Regions from separate parts of the Homo sapiens genome. Here region 2 is linked to region 1. Evidence: promoter capture Hi-C in 16 types of primary human blood cells and fetal thymus (Javierre and others, 2016). All regions are on one chromosome and are shown on one strand. Each heading gives the region's core, a stretch centred on a gene start or on the middle of the fragment in contact. The rest is flanking DNA. Distances are from core to core; before and after follow the strand shown.

The links. Contacts are between HindIII fragments. The CHiCAGO score rates a contact against its expected background, and 5 or more counts as called.
Region 2: a fragment that was not itself captured here is called in contact with the fragment with the promoter of MMP2 in region 1 in 1 of 17 cell types (total CD4 T cells); the score reaches 7.1 in total CD4 T cells.

What each region holds. Positions count from the first base shown.
Region 1 is chr16:55,475,407-55,481,362 of GRCh38, forward strand. MMP2 (matrix metallopeptidase 2) reads left to right here and starts at 3,792. Exons shown (of 13, transcript NM_004530.6): 1 at 3,792-4,226. The coding sequence starts at 4,074. The HindIII fragment of the contact is 12,132 bases long and covers 1-5,956 here.
Region 2 is chr16:53,544,310-53,550,265 of GRCh38, forward strand. LOC105371269 (a long non-coding RNA gene) reads right to left here. Exons shown (of 8, transcript XR_933588.4): 4 at 4,115-4,288; 5 at 3,957-4,013; 6 at 2,576-2,645; 7 at 1,175-1,379; 8 at 29-849. Among named protein-coding and RNA genes, the nearest start is that of AKTIP, 44 kb to the left of the region's middle. RefSeq lists an enhancer at 2,606-3,107 and a silencer at 2,665-2,844. The HindIII fragment of the contact is 601 bases long and covers 3,483-4,083 here.

The sequences.
Region 1 (5,956 bases), core at 2,542-5,041:
TCAATAAAACACCACCTTAATGCCACTGTACCCCAGCACCAAAAACAGTGTTCATCAAAAACTTCCCGAATAAATGACAGAATTCATGTCATATCGCGACGTCTTCTAATCACAGCCTGCGTAGTTTTCTGGGGCTGCTGTAAAAAAGCACTACAGACTGGGTGGCTTACAACAGAAATTTATTCTCTCAGAGCTCTGAGACTAGAAGTCCAAAACCAACATGTCAGCAGGGCCACGCTCCCTCTGAAGCCTCTGGGGGAAGAATTCCTTCTTGTCTCTTCTAGCTTCTGGGTTGCAGGCAACTCCTTGGGTTGCAGGCATTGCTCCAATTTCTGCCTCCATGGTCACATGGAGTTCTTCTTGCTGTGTGTCTCTGTGTCCAAAGTTTTGTCTTCTTATCATGACAACAGGCTTTGGATTAGAGCCCACTCATCTTAACTTGATTGTATCTGCAAAGACCCTATTTCCATGTGAGGGCACAGTCACAGGCATTGGGACTTGAACATATCTTTTTGGCAACACAATTATATCCACTAAACAGCATTTTTGCATCTATATTAAGAATGACTAAAAGATGCTGCAGTAACAAACATATCCCAAAAGCTCCATGGTTCGTTGCCTAAGAGTTTGTTTTTCACTTACGAAGTCTGTAGTGGGTCTGGTTGCTTTCATTTTACGACTTTGCTAGATCAACACAGGGCTCCCAGGGTTACCGTGGCAGGGGAAGAGAGATATACAGGAGTGCACAGGGGCCCTGGAGCATATTGCATGTGCTCACCAACAAGCCCATTATCATCAGATACTGCCTGTTCTCTCCTCGTCCCCTGGGCCATTCTAGGCCCCAAGTGAGGGTTCTTGGATCTCACACAAGAAGGAATTTGAGGCAAGTCCATAAAGTGAAAGCAAGTTTATTAAGAAAGTAAGGGAATAAAAGAATGGCTATTTCATCGGCAGATCAGCCCCAAAAGCTGCTGGTTGCCCATTTTTATGGTTATTTCTTGATTATATGCTAAACAAGGGGTAAATTATTCATGCTTCTGCCTTTTAGGCCGTATAGGATAACTTCCTGACGTTGCCATGGCATATGTAAACAGTCGTGGCGCTGGTGGGAGTGTGGCAGTAAGGCTGACCAGAGGTTTTTCTCATCATCATCTTGGTTTTGGTGGGTCTTGGCCAGCTTCTTTACTGCAACCTGTTTTATCAGCAAGGTCTTTATGACCTGTATCTTGTGCCAGCCTCCTATCTCATTTCGTGATTAGGATTGCCTTAATTTACTGGTAATGCAGGCCAGCAGGTCTTAGTCTAACCCCTATTCAAGATGGAGTTGCTCTGGTTCCAATGCCTCTGACATAGTCATTGCTGGGCACAGAAGCCTCTCTCTCACTGAGTGCTGCTTCTGCAGCCATTGCCATCTCTGAATGGGCACCAAGCCCCACACTGGAAACCGATACCCTTGGAATGCCAAAACCACAGAGGCTGTGAAGAGGTACAGTCAAAGCTGCCCTCTGCCAGAGGAGCTCCAAAGCATGTTATGCAGACTCCAGAGACTTTCTGAAAAGGTTAAAACTCAAATTGGGCAAGTGTAAATGAACAACACCTAGTGAAGGGAGTCACATACAAGGCAATACAATAGAGAGTGGTGAGGACTGTGGCAAACCAAAGTATGTGCCTCATCTAAAGGGAGCAGTCACTACTCAACTTCAGCAAATTATTGCCATATGGAAACTGGCATCCAGTATTGCCAGATTTTTGGGAAATTTTTTTAAAAAAAGAAAACCAGAAAGTCAGATTTTTACATGAAGTTTCCCAAATTTCAAAATGCTGTTCAGGCTGGATTTAGCCCACAGGCCACGAGTTTGCAGCCCCTGCTTTAGTGAGATAACTTTTTCCATTTTCACTCTCAGCTCTCAGCTCTCCAACTTGGCTCTCTGGCTATCCACAGGACGTGGACATGAGCCCAGTGGGGCTGGGCCAGGAGGCAATCCCCCTTCCCAACTGACCTCAGTCTCGCCCTCTCCAAAACAGCCAAGGTTTGTCACTGGGTCAGGCTGAAGGGCCTGGCTCCCTCCTGCGGGGCAAGGTCCCTCCCAAGAGGGTCCTTTAAAACTGACTCTGGAAAGTCAGAGCACACACCCACCAGACAAGCCTGAACTTGTCTGAAGCCCACTGAGACCCAAGCCGCAGAGACTTTTCTAGCTGTGATGATCAAGACATAATCGTGACCTCCAATGCCCCCCACAAGTATATTGCTCCTGATTCTTTCAGCCCCTGACCTTACTTCTCAAACTGTTCCCTGCTGACCCCCAGTCCTATCTGCCCCCTTCCTAGGCTGGTCCTTACTGACCCCTCCAGCTCCATCCCCTCACCCTGTGCCCCACCTTTTTCAGATAGAAAAAACTTTCTTCTCCAGTGCCTCTTGCTGTTTTTCATCTCTGGGCCATTGTCAATGTTCCCTAAAACATTCCCCATATTCCCCACCCAGCACTCCACCTCTTTAGCTCTTCAGGTCTCAGCTCAGAAGTCACTTCTTCCAGGAAGCCTTCCTTGATTGTCTTTACTAGTTTAGGGGCTGAAGTCAGGCGTTCCCAACAGCCTGCTGGAGTTCCCCATCACAGCTTATCTCTCAACTGTCTTTCCTGAGAGAGGGAGAAGACATTCCTCAGAGACGGTTGTCACAGGGAGAACTTCAAAATTGGGATTCGACCTGAGAGGCCACATGGATTCTTGGCTTGGCGCAGGAAAGGATTCAAGAGTGAGTGGGGAATTCGTGGAACTGAGGGCTCCTCCCCTTTTTAGACCATATAGGGTAAACCTCCCCACATTGCCATGGCATTTATAAACTGCCATGGCACTGGTGGGTGCTTCCTTTAACATGCTAATGCATTATAATTAGCGTAAAATGAGCAGTGAGGATGACCAGAGGTCGCTTTCTTTGCCATCTTGGTTTTGGCTGGCTTCTTCACTGCATACTGTTTTATCAGTGGGGTCTTTGTGACCTCTATCTTATTAAACCAGTCTTGCCCAATTTCTATCTCATCCTGTGACCGAGAATGCGGACCCTCCTGGGAGTGCAGCCCAGCAGGTCTCAGCCTCATTTTACCCAGCCCCCTGTTCAAGATGGAGTCGCTCTGGTTCCAACGTCTCTAACGCGGGGCCCCTGACTGCTCTATTTCCCAAGGTGTATCTAGCATCTCGCACTATACGAGGCCAAGTTAAGGCTTACACATTTGCAGAAGGAAAGAGGTAAGGAAGCAACCTGGGACCTTCCACTGTCTCTGTTTCCATCTCTCTCTTTCCATCTCTGTTCATCCCAGAATCTCTCTGTCCCTATCCCTAAATATCGAAAATTTCTGTCTCTGACCATCTATCATTGTGGCTGATCATCTGTTTCTGACCATTCCTTCCCGTTCCTGACCCCAGGGAGTGCAGGGTGTCCTAGCCAAGCCGGCGTCCCTCCTAGTAGTACCGCTGCTCTCTAACCTCAGGACGTCAAGGGCCTAGAGCGACAGATGTTTCCCAGCAGGGGGTTCTGAGGCTGTGCGCCCAGATCGCGAGAGAGGCAAGTGGGGTGACGAGGTCGTGCACTGAGGGTGGACGTAGAGGCCAGGAGTAGCAGGCGGCCGGGGAAAAGAGGTGGAGAAAGGAAAAAAGAGGAGAAAAGTGGAGGAGGGCGAGTAGGGGGGTGGGGCAGAGAGGGGCGGGCCCGAGTGCGCCCCCCGCCCCCAGCCCCGCTCTGCCAGCTCCCTCCCAGCCCAGCCGGCTACATCTGGCGGCTGCCCTCCCTTGTTTCCGCTGCATCCAGACTTCCTCAGGCGGTGGCTGGAGGCTGCGCATCTGGGGCTTTAAACATACAAAGGGATTGCCAGGACCTGCGGCGGCGGCGGCGGCGGCGGGGGCTGGGGCGCGGGGGCCGGACCATGAGCCGCTGAGCCGGGCAAACCCCAGGCCACCGAGCCAGCGGACCCTCGGAGCGCAGCCCTGCGCCGCGGAGCAGGCTCCAACCAGGCGGCGAGGCGGCCACACGCACCGAGCCAGCGACCCCCGGGCGACGCGCGGGGCCAGGGAGCGCTACGATGGAGGCGCTAATGGCCCGGGGCGCGCTCACGGGTCCCCTGAGGGCGCTCTGTCTCCTGGGCTGCCTGCTGAGCCACGCCGCCGCCGCGCCGTCGCCCATCATCAAGTTCCCCGGCGATGTCGCCCCCAAAACGGACAAAGAGTTGGCAGTGGTGAGTTGCTGCGCTGGCCTCAAGGAACCACGTTTAGACAAACTTCGGAGGCAAAGGATGGGGGTGTCTCTCCCCCTGCCCTCGGCGGTGGGCACACAGCGTGGGGGAGGGGCTTCGGTAAACAGCTTGGGGGGTCTTTGGCAAGCTATTGGAGTGATCTCTTGCAAACGGTGGGGGATCTTTTGTAAGCAAAGAAAACCTTTGATAAACAATTTGGCAACCTTCAGCATACAGCAGTGGGGCGAAAAACAAGCCAGAGAGTGGGAGAGGGGTGACCTGGCAAACTACTGGAAAGGGACTCTTATGTAAATAGCGGGGACATCCTCTAGTATCTGGGACATTTGGCGGGGGGGGGGGGCGGTCTTTGTAAACAACTTTTGGACACATCTGGGCAGTTGCTAAGGGCTCTTGCCAAGCGTCTAGGTAAGCCTTTGGCAAACAGCTACAGGGGTCGTTTTTGCTAATGTAGGACTTTGGGAACGGTGCTCTGGCACACAATTTGGGTAAACTTATGCGCGCATAAGGATGGGAGGGAGCTTGGTCAAAGCGGGGCTTGGCAAATTTCTAGGAACCTTCGGCACAGATCCGGAGAGGGACCTTTAAACAAACAGCTCGAGGGGGCCATTTGGGAAGTGATTGGGGCAGGAGGGAAGCAGAGAGCGCATCTTTTTTCTCCTGGCTTAATGGACAAATTGGTCAAGGGCTGGGCCTCGGAAAGTTTCCTCGAACTTCTCCAAAGGGTCGGAGAAAAGAAGGAGAGAGCTGGCCCGGCAGGAGGGAGGAGGAGTGGGGCAGGCGCTGGAGGGCCCGGCGCGTGGGGCGGGGGCGGACTGCGCTCCGCTCGGGTCGGAGAGCGGCCAGAGAGCCCTCCTTCCTGGCTGGGCTCCCAAACCGCGGTTCAGATGTTGTCTTGTGAGCGTGCGCGCGCCTGGCTGGAGGGGCACTGAGCCTGGCCGCAGTGTTGCGTAAGTAGGGCCTGAGGAGAGAGGCAGGCCAGGGACCCATCAAGATGTCCTTTCCAGTCCAGGGGATATCTGCTCCCTTGTTGCTTCAGCCACCCTGCCCTCCAGCCTCCCCCTCAACCTGTCCGGGAGAAGACGCCCATGCCCTCTGGTCACCCTAGGAACTCCTTCAGGAGGTGACAACTACCCTCTCCCAACTCTCACCCTTCCAAACAGCTAGGTCTCAGCCCCCTCTGGATAGATGGGTTGGGAAACCTCCATACATTTTTAGAGGGCTACTTTTTTCAAGGATCTGGAGCTGGCTGGCATAATGATGTGGCTGTTGGGTGGGGGTGAGAGTGGAGCTTTGGGACAATGACAAAGCTACTTGGTTTCCTACACCTTTTCCAGCCAATGGGTCACAGGATGAACCCCTAAATTGGGGTTCAGCCTGGGGGCCACATGGGTTCTTGGCTTGCACAGGAAGGAATTCAAGAGCGAGCCAACAGAGTAAAGTGAAAACAAATTTATTAAGAAGGTAAAGGAATAAAAGGGTGATTATTCCATAGACAGAGCAGGGAATGGGCTGCTGGACTGAGTATACATATGGTTATTTCTTGATTATATGCTAAACAAGGGGTGGATTATTTAAGAGTTTTCCAGAAAAAGGGTGGGGAGTTCCTGGAACCGAGGGTTTCTCTCCCTTTTAGACCATATAGGGTAACTTCTCAATGTTGCTATGGCATTTATAAACTGTCACAGCGCTGGTGGGAGTGTCTAATGTATTTA
Region 2 (5,956 bases), core at 2,533-5,032, 1.9 Mb before region 1:
GAAAAATCAGCTCACTTTGAGACCTCCATGCCATTATTGCCTCCTTTAATATTGCTGACAGTCTCTTGCAAATGTATCACAAGTTGGCATTTATTAGTGCGAGGCACAAGTAAGGGGCATGTTATTTGATTTGAATAACAGCTTGGAGCTACAGTTTGAGTCCAGAAATATATTAGTCAGAAACAATCTCATTTAATAACACAGAAACTAATAAAAGAAAAGTATTCCAACTGATTCAGAATTGAATTTATGAATATTGCTTTAGCAGGATTAATGATCAAAACCCCAACCTGTTTGTCACGTTATAACTGACTTTTCCATTTAAATGCAAAACCAGAAGTCAATGAGTCCAAAAGATTGTATATTGCTTTGAAGAAAACCAGTTCATTTTACATGTAAGCTTCCAAATTGGCAATAAACTTTAATTACAGGGTCAGATAATCAAATTATAATCAAATAGCCTCACATAAAAATCTATGTTTGAAATTAACAAGACACAAGCCTGCCACTTGGTATCATTGCACCTCTGTAACTTACTAACAGACATTTCATTTTCATTTAAAAGTCACCTTAAGGACTTTCTCCTCAATTTCCACCGTGTAGCTTAATTTTATTTAGAAAACATTTCATTCTTAGACCATGCAGTCCTTCAGATTTTCATATTCAGCTCTACATTCCCCCGCCCCTTCTCACCTTGGGGAGGTCTGTTTTACAATTGATGATGGGATTTCCAAATTGGGATGATTGTAACCCTTTCCAACTGAGAGGTGTCTATACTGGGAAGAACCCTTGATCTGGTGTCAGGTATCATTGGACAGAGGCAGCATCCACACCATGGGACTGAGTGGCCTGGAAAATTTTGCCAGAGGAAAAAAATGTGTATAGCAAGCTTGTCCAACCTGTGGCACAGGATGGCTTTGAATGCAGCCCAAAAGAAATTTGTAAACTTTCTTAAAACATTATGAGACTTTTTTTGCAATTTTTTTTCTTTCTTTCTTTTCTTTTTTTAGCTTATCAACTATTGTTAGTGTTAGTGTATTTTATGTGTGGCCCAAGACAATTCTTCTTCCAATGTGGCCCAGGGAAGCCAAAGATTGGACACCCCTGGTGTATAGCTTAGAAATACTTAAGTTATTTTGAAATCAGCAAATGCATTGGCAAATGAATGGCATACCTGCTTCACTGTCTCATGAGATCCGAACAAGCAGAATGCGAAGTAATGCTTCAAAACCTCTTTTTATCTTTAAAAGTGGTTTCTTTGTCTTCTTCAGTAACAGCAGCGTTTTTTGTCGGCATGATGAAGAGCCGGCTGCCGAGCTTCCTCTTCCTGGCAAGCAGGCGAGTGGTGGCCACATGAAAAGAATGAGGAGCTGAGCAGCCTGCGGAGGGGAATCTAAGATGTGCACACTTCTACCATGGCACACTTTCTTCCTCTAAGGATTATACTTTTCTCCTAGCTCTCCCATAGAATAAAATAAATGGAGTGCAAAGCATCCGACAGGGTCACCAGATAAAAATATATTTTTTGTATATCCCAAATATTGCATGGGATATACTAAAAATAAACATCATTCCTTGTTTATCTGAAATACAAATTTAAGTGGACATCCTATATTTTTATTAGCTAAACTGGCAATCCTGGCCTGCAATAAGAATGGCAATAAATGCTTCTTTAAGTGTTCAGAGCTTGACATCTTCTGAAGCATTGAAGGATTTCATGGTGATTAACTTAACATTTCCCAAACTTGCCAATGATCACCCAATCATAAGAATCAGCTGGGAGCCTTATAAAACTATAGATGCCCAGCCGGCATGCTGGCTTACACCTGTAATCCCAGTACTTTGGGAGGCCGAGGCGGGTGAATCGCCTGAGGTCAGGAGTTCGAGACCAGCCTGGCCAACATGATGAAACCCCATCTCTACTAAAAAATACAAAAAATTAGCTGGGCGTCGTGGCGGGTGCCTGTAATCCCAGCTACTCGGGAGGCTGAGGCAGGAGAATCACTTGAACCTGGGAGGCAGAGGTTGCAGCAAGCCGAGATTGTGCCACTGCATTCCAGGCTGGCCAACAAGAGCGAAACTCCATCTCAAAATAAATAAATAAAACTACAGATGCCCAGGCCCATCCTACAATTACTTATTCAGTAAGACCAGGGTTTAGGCTGGAAGTCTGTATTTGGACAAGTTTCCCAGGTGCTTCTTGGCATCAGAAAAGTCTGGAAAACACTGCAAATATTGCAAATATCTCTTGTCTTGTCACTGCATCCCTGAGAAGCAAGTGGTGATGGGGTTTGAGAGTTGGGGCAAAATTATTAACTTTCACTTCCAGCTGGGGAAATAATGGCTTAGAAAAGTGCTCAGCTGTATTTGTAACTTGGACCGACTGAAATGCCAGCCTCAAAATATTTTATTTCATTGCCACATAAAGTAAAAGATCATATGGTTAAGAGATGGACAGACAGGAGGCATCTGACCCTGTAAGTTACTTCTATCAGCATAATTATGATCTTTGCTGTGTTGTCTGGTGTGCTCAAGGGTCCCACTGTGAGCTATTAAAGAATGAGGTATTGATTACCTCTGCCTTGGGTTTTTTATCTGCAGTAAGGAGATCCTCCCTGCCTCAAGCTTTCTCCATGTTTTTAACCCTGGAACAAAAAAAATAGAGTGCGGTGGACCAAAAACCCATGAGAAGTTCCATCCATCAGTGCATGGAGGGTGGAGGGAAGGTGCTATGCAGGTGAGCAACTCTGTCCCCTGGCGGCCACTTTAGCCCCTGTCCCATTGAACATCCATGGGCCCCAGACACACAGGGAAGGCGGGGACAAGTAGGAAAAACAGAACTCCCAAGACAGTCATTTGCACTCTCAGCATGACACACGTGCATTAAAGGGAAACTGCAAGGATGTCAGGGTGATGAGAACATTCAATACAAACAGAGAGGCCCCAGGGTTATGTCCACCCTCCCCCACTCTGCGCAGTTACTGCCAGGGCAGGAAAACTGGGTTTCAAGTCAACAATTTGTCTCCTTCTCCTGAGAGGTGTTTGCCTGCAGAAAGATGAATCAGAGAAAAGATTGAGGTCTGATTTCACCCTCCATGTTCTGCCTTACCATGGCCAAGCACGCAAGGGAACACATGGTGGGAAATTGTTTCTTCCCAAGAGACTCCAGCCTCTAGTAGGAGCCCTGCTGCTGGTTCCCCTTATGCAGTTGAGTGTCTTCTTGCTCTCTAACAACTAAGGCAGTCACATTTTACTTCTGTAGTTAAGTCACCCTCTTTTAAAATGATCACTGAGCCAGTAGGCAGAAAGGCAGCTTACACCCACCTCTTACCGTGACCATGACCTTGGGCAGCCCTTGTCTCTGCCTCAACTTCCAATAACGCTAGTTACATTAGGTGCTAACTTTATGGGATTCTCTGCCGACATTCTTCCTTTGTGTGTGACTGATGGGACATTGTCTACTAGGCACACAGTAAAATCAAAGCTTCTCTTTCCAAAATTAACCCAAAACTGACTTTTGCTGTGCAATCATACTCTTGTAAAATCTGCTTTTCATATCCCTTGAGTTGTTGCCACAACTCTATATAAACATATGGAAAATGTTTCAGTTCCAAAGAAAAAAGCTCAAGTCTTCCCTAAGTCAGTGTATTGAGTCCTTAGACCACATCTCACATCTGAGAGGGGCCAGGGTTTTTTCTAACACCCACTGGATGTAGTTACCACAGCTCTGTGACCTCAGAGGAACCCAGCTTCACCTTATAAGACATGGAGGAGAGGAAAGGGCAAAGTATCTGTGGGCACAAACTGTGGACAGAATGTGGGAACAGGAAAAATAAGCCAGGGGTGATATTAACCATGACAAGTGGTGAGGTTTGGGTGATGAAGATACATTAAAATAATCCTGTCTTTCTTAATCTCCTGAGCCCTTGGTAATGCTCTATTGACTAAATACTTACCAGGTTAAAAACATGTCTTGCTTCCTGCTTTCCTGGAGGCACTCCAGTCTAAATCATCTACAAGGTAAAGAATTTATCAAAAACCATTCTGATAACTTTGACTACCTCCAGCTGGGATGCCCTGCAAAGCTTCCCGAACACCAAGGATCACCACTTACCATCACACTCTTTCTGGAACTGTGAATGCTCTGGGCTCCTGAAGTTAGATTTTGGTTTCAGATGCGATGTTAAATTCTAGGAGGTTGACCCTGGATGGCAACTTGATATATGTCTCAGAGGCCTTGAAGGTACATGCCCTCTTTGATCCAGAAGTTCCAGAGCTAAGAGTGTATCTTAAGAAATGTCATCAGTACAAACCTTATCATTGTTAAAAGTCAGTAATCATGTGTGGCATAAGTAAATTATGGTATGCTCATATGAAAGAATACTCTGTAGCCATTCAAAATCATATAGAGGAATATGCAGTGACATGAAAGAAAGTTCCTCTCCTATGGGTTAATGAAAATTATAGTACCATGTAAAGTTAACAGTGGTCATCTTTGGTTGATAGGATTATAACTGAGATTTTTAAATTCCTTTTTGTCTTGTTTTCCAAATTTTCTGCACAAAGCAAATATTATTTATTTATTTTCAGCGACAGGGTCTTGCTCTGTTGCCCAGGCTGGAGTGCAGTGGTGTGATCATAGCTCACTACAATCTTGAACTCCTGGGCTCAAGCAATCCTTCCGCCTCAGCCTCCCAAATAGCTGGGACTACAGGCATGTGCCATCACACCCAGCTATTTAAAAATATTTTTTGGTAGAGACAGGGTCTTACTATGTTGCCTGGGCTGATCTCAAACTCCTGGGCTAAAGGGATCCTCCCACCCAAACCTCCCAAAGTGTTGGGATTACAGGCATGAGCCACTGCACCCAGGCTGTTGGTGCAGTGGTGTGATCTTGGCTCACTGCAGCCTCAACCTCCCAGGCTCAAGCGATCCGCCCACCTCAGCCTCCCAAGTAGTTGGGACTACAGGTGTGCGCCACCACACATGGCTAATTTTTGTATTTTTGTAGAGATGGGGCTCTCCCGATGTTGCCCAGGAAGGTCTTGAACTACTGGGTGCAAGCAATCTGCCCACCTCGATCCCCGAAAATGCTGGGATTACCGCACCTGACTTCAGCTGGTAACTTTTTAAGTAGGAAAAAACTAATTCCACTTCTGAGTAGGAAAAAAATAATAGAACAGGATAAAAATCTTACTGGCCTTTATGGGACTGACTTCCAGCTTCCACTTTGTCATGAAAAGATTCTATGTTCCTTGTGTTTCTAACTTGTCCCAAACACTATATTCACAGGTTGTCTCGGTTCTTCCTCTCTCACTATTCCTGTGGAAATGTTCCAGACATAAAGGACAAGTAGCAAAAATACCCTCTGATGAGTAAATAATAGGATGCATTCAGATCTGACTTAATTATTGCACTTAACACAGAGCCAGACACGCAGTAGGTGCTAATTAGCTGTTGAATGAATGAAAGAAAATGCAATCTTAGTATTTTAAGGGCTTTTATTTTTTCCATTGTTAAAATAGGGAAAATGTGTTAAAAAAAAAAAAGACATTTAACTCAATTCATAACAAACAGTGGTTTAAAATAGAAATTCCAAACCAATTTTGGCTAAAAGGATGCTAGTATATTCTGAACAGCTGCTGTTGTAGACACAGTCTGAAATAAATAACTTCCAGTGTGGTTCCAAGTCTGTGTTGAATAAACAGCACAGATACAGGAACGAGCTTTATTAGCGTTAATTGCAATGAGTCTGCGCAGCTCAAAGGCCGGATTCTTGCTCACGGCGAAATCTAGCAGTGATGATCCTTCCTCCGGCTGTAGATGGAGCCATAACATTACTAAATACGATCCCAGCACGTGCGTTGGGGGTTTTGTGCTGTAAAAGCCAGATGTTTGGAACTTTTCTGGCTTTAGTTTCTGAGTGTGAACAACCAGAAAACTCAGACCTCTATTT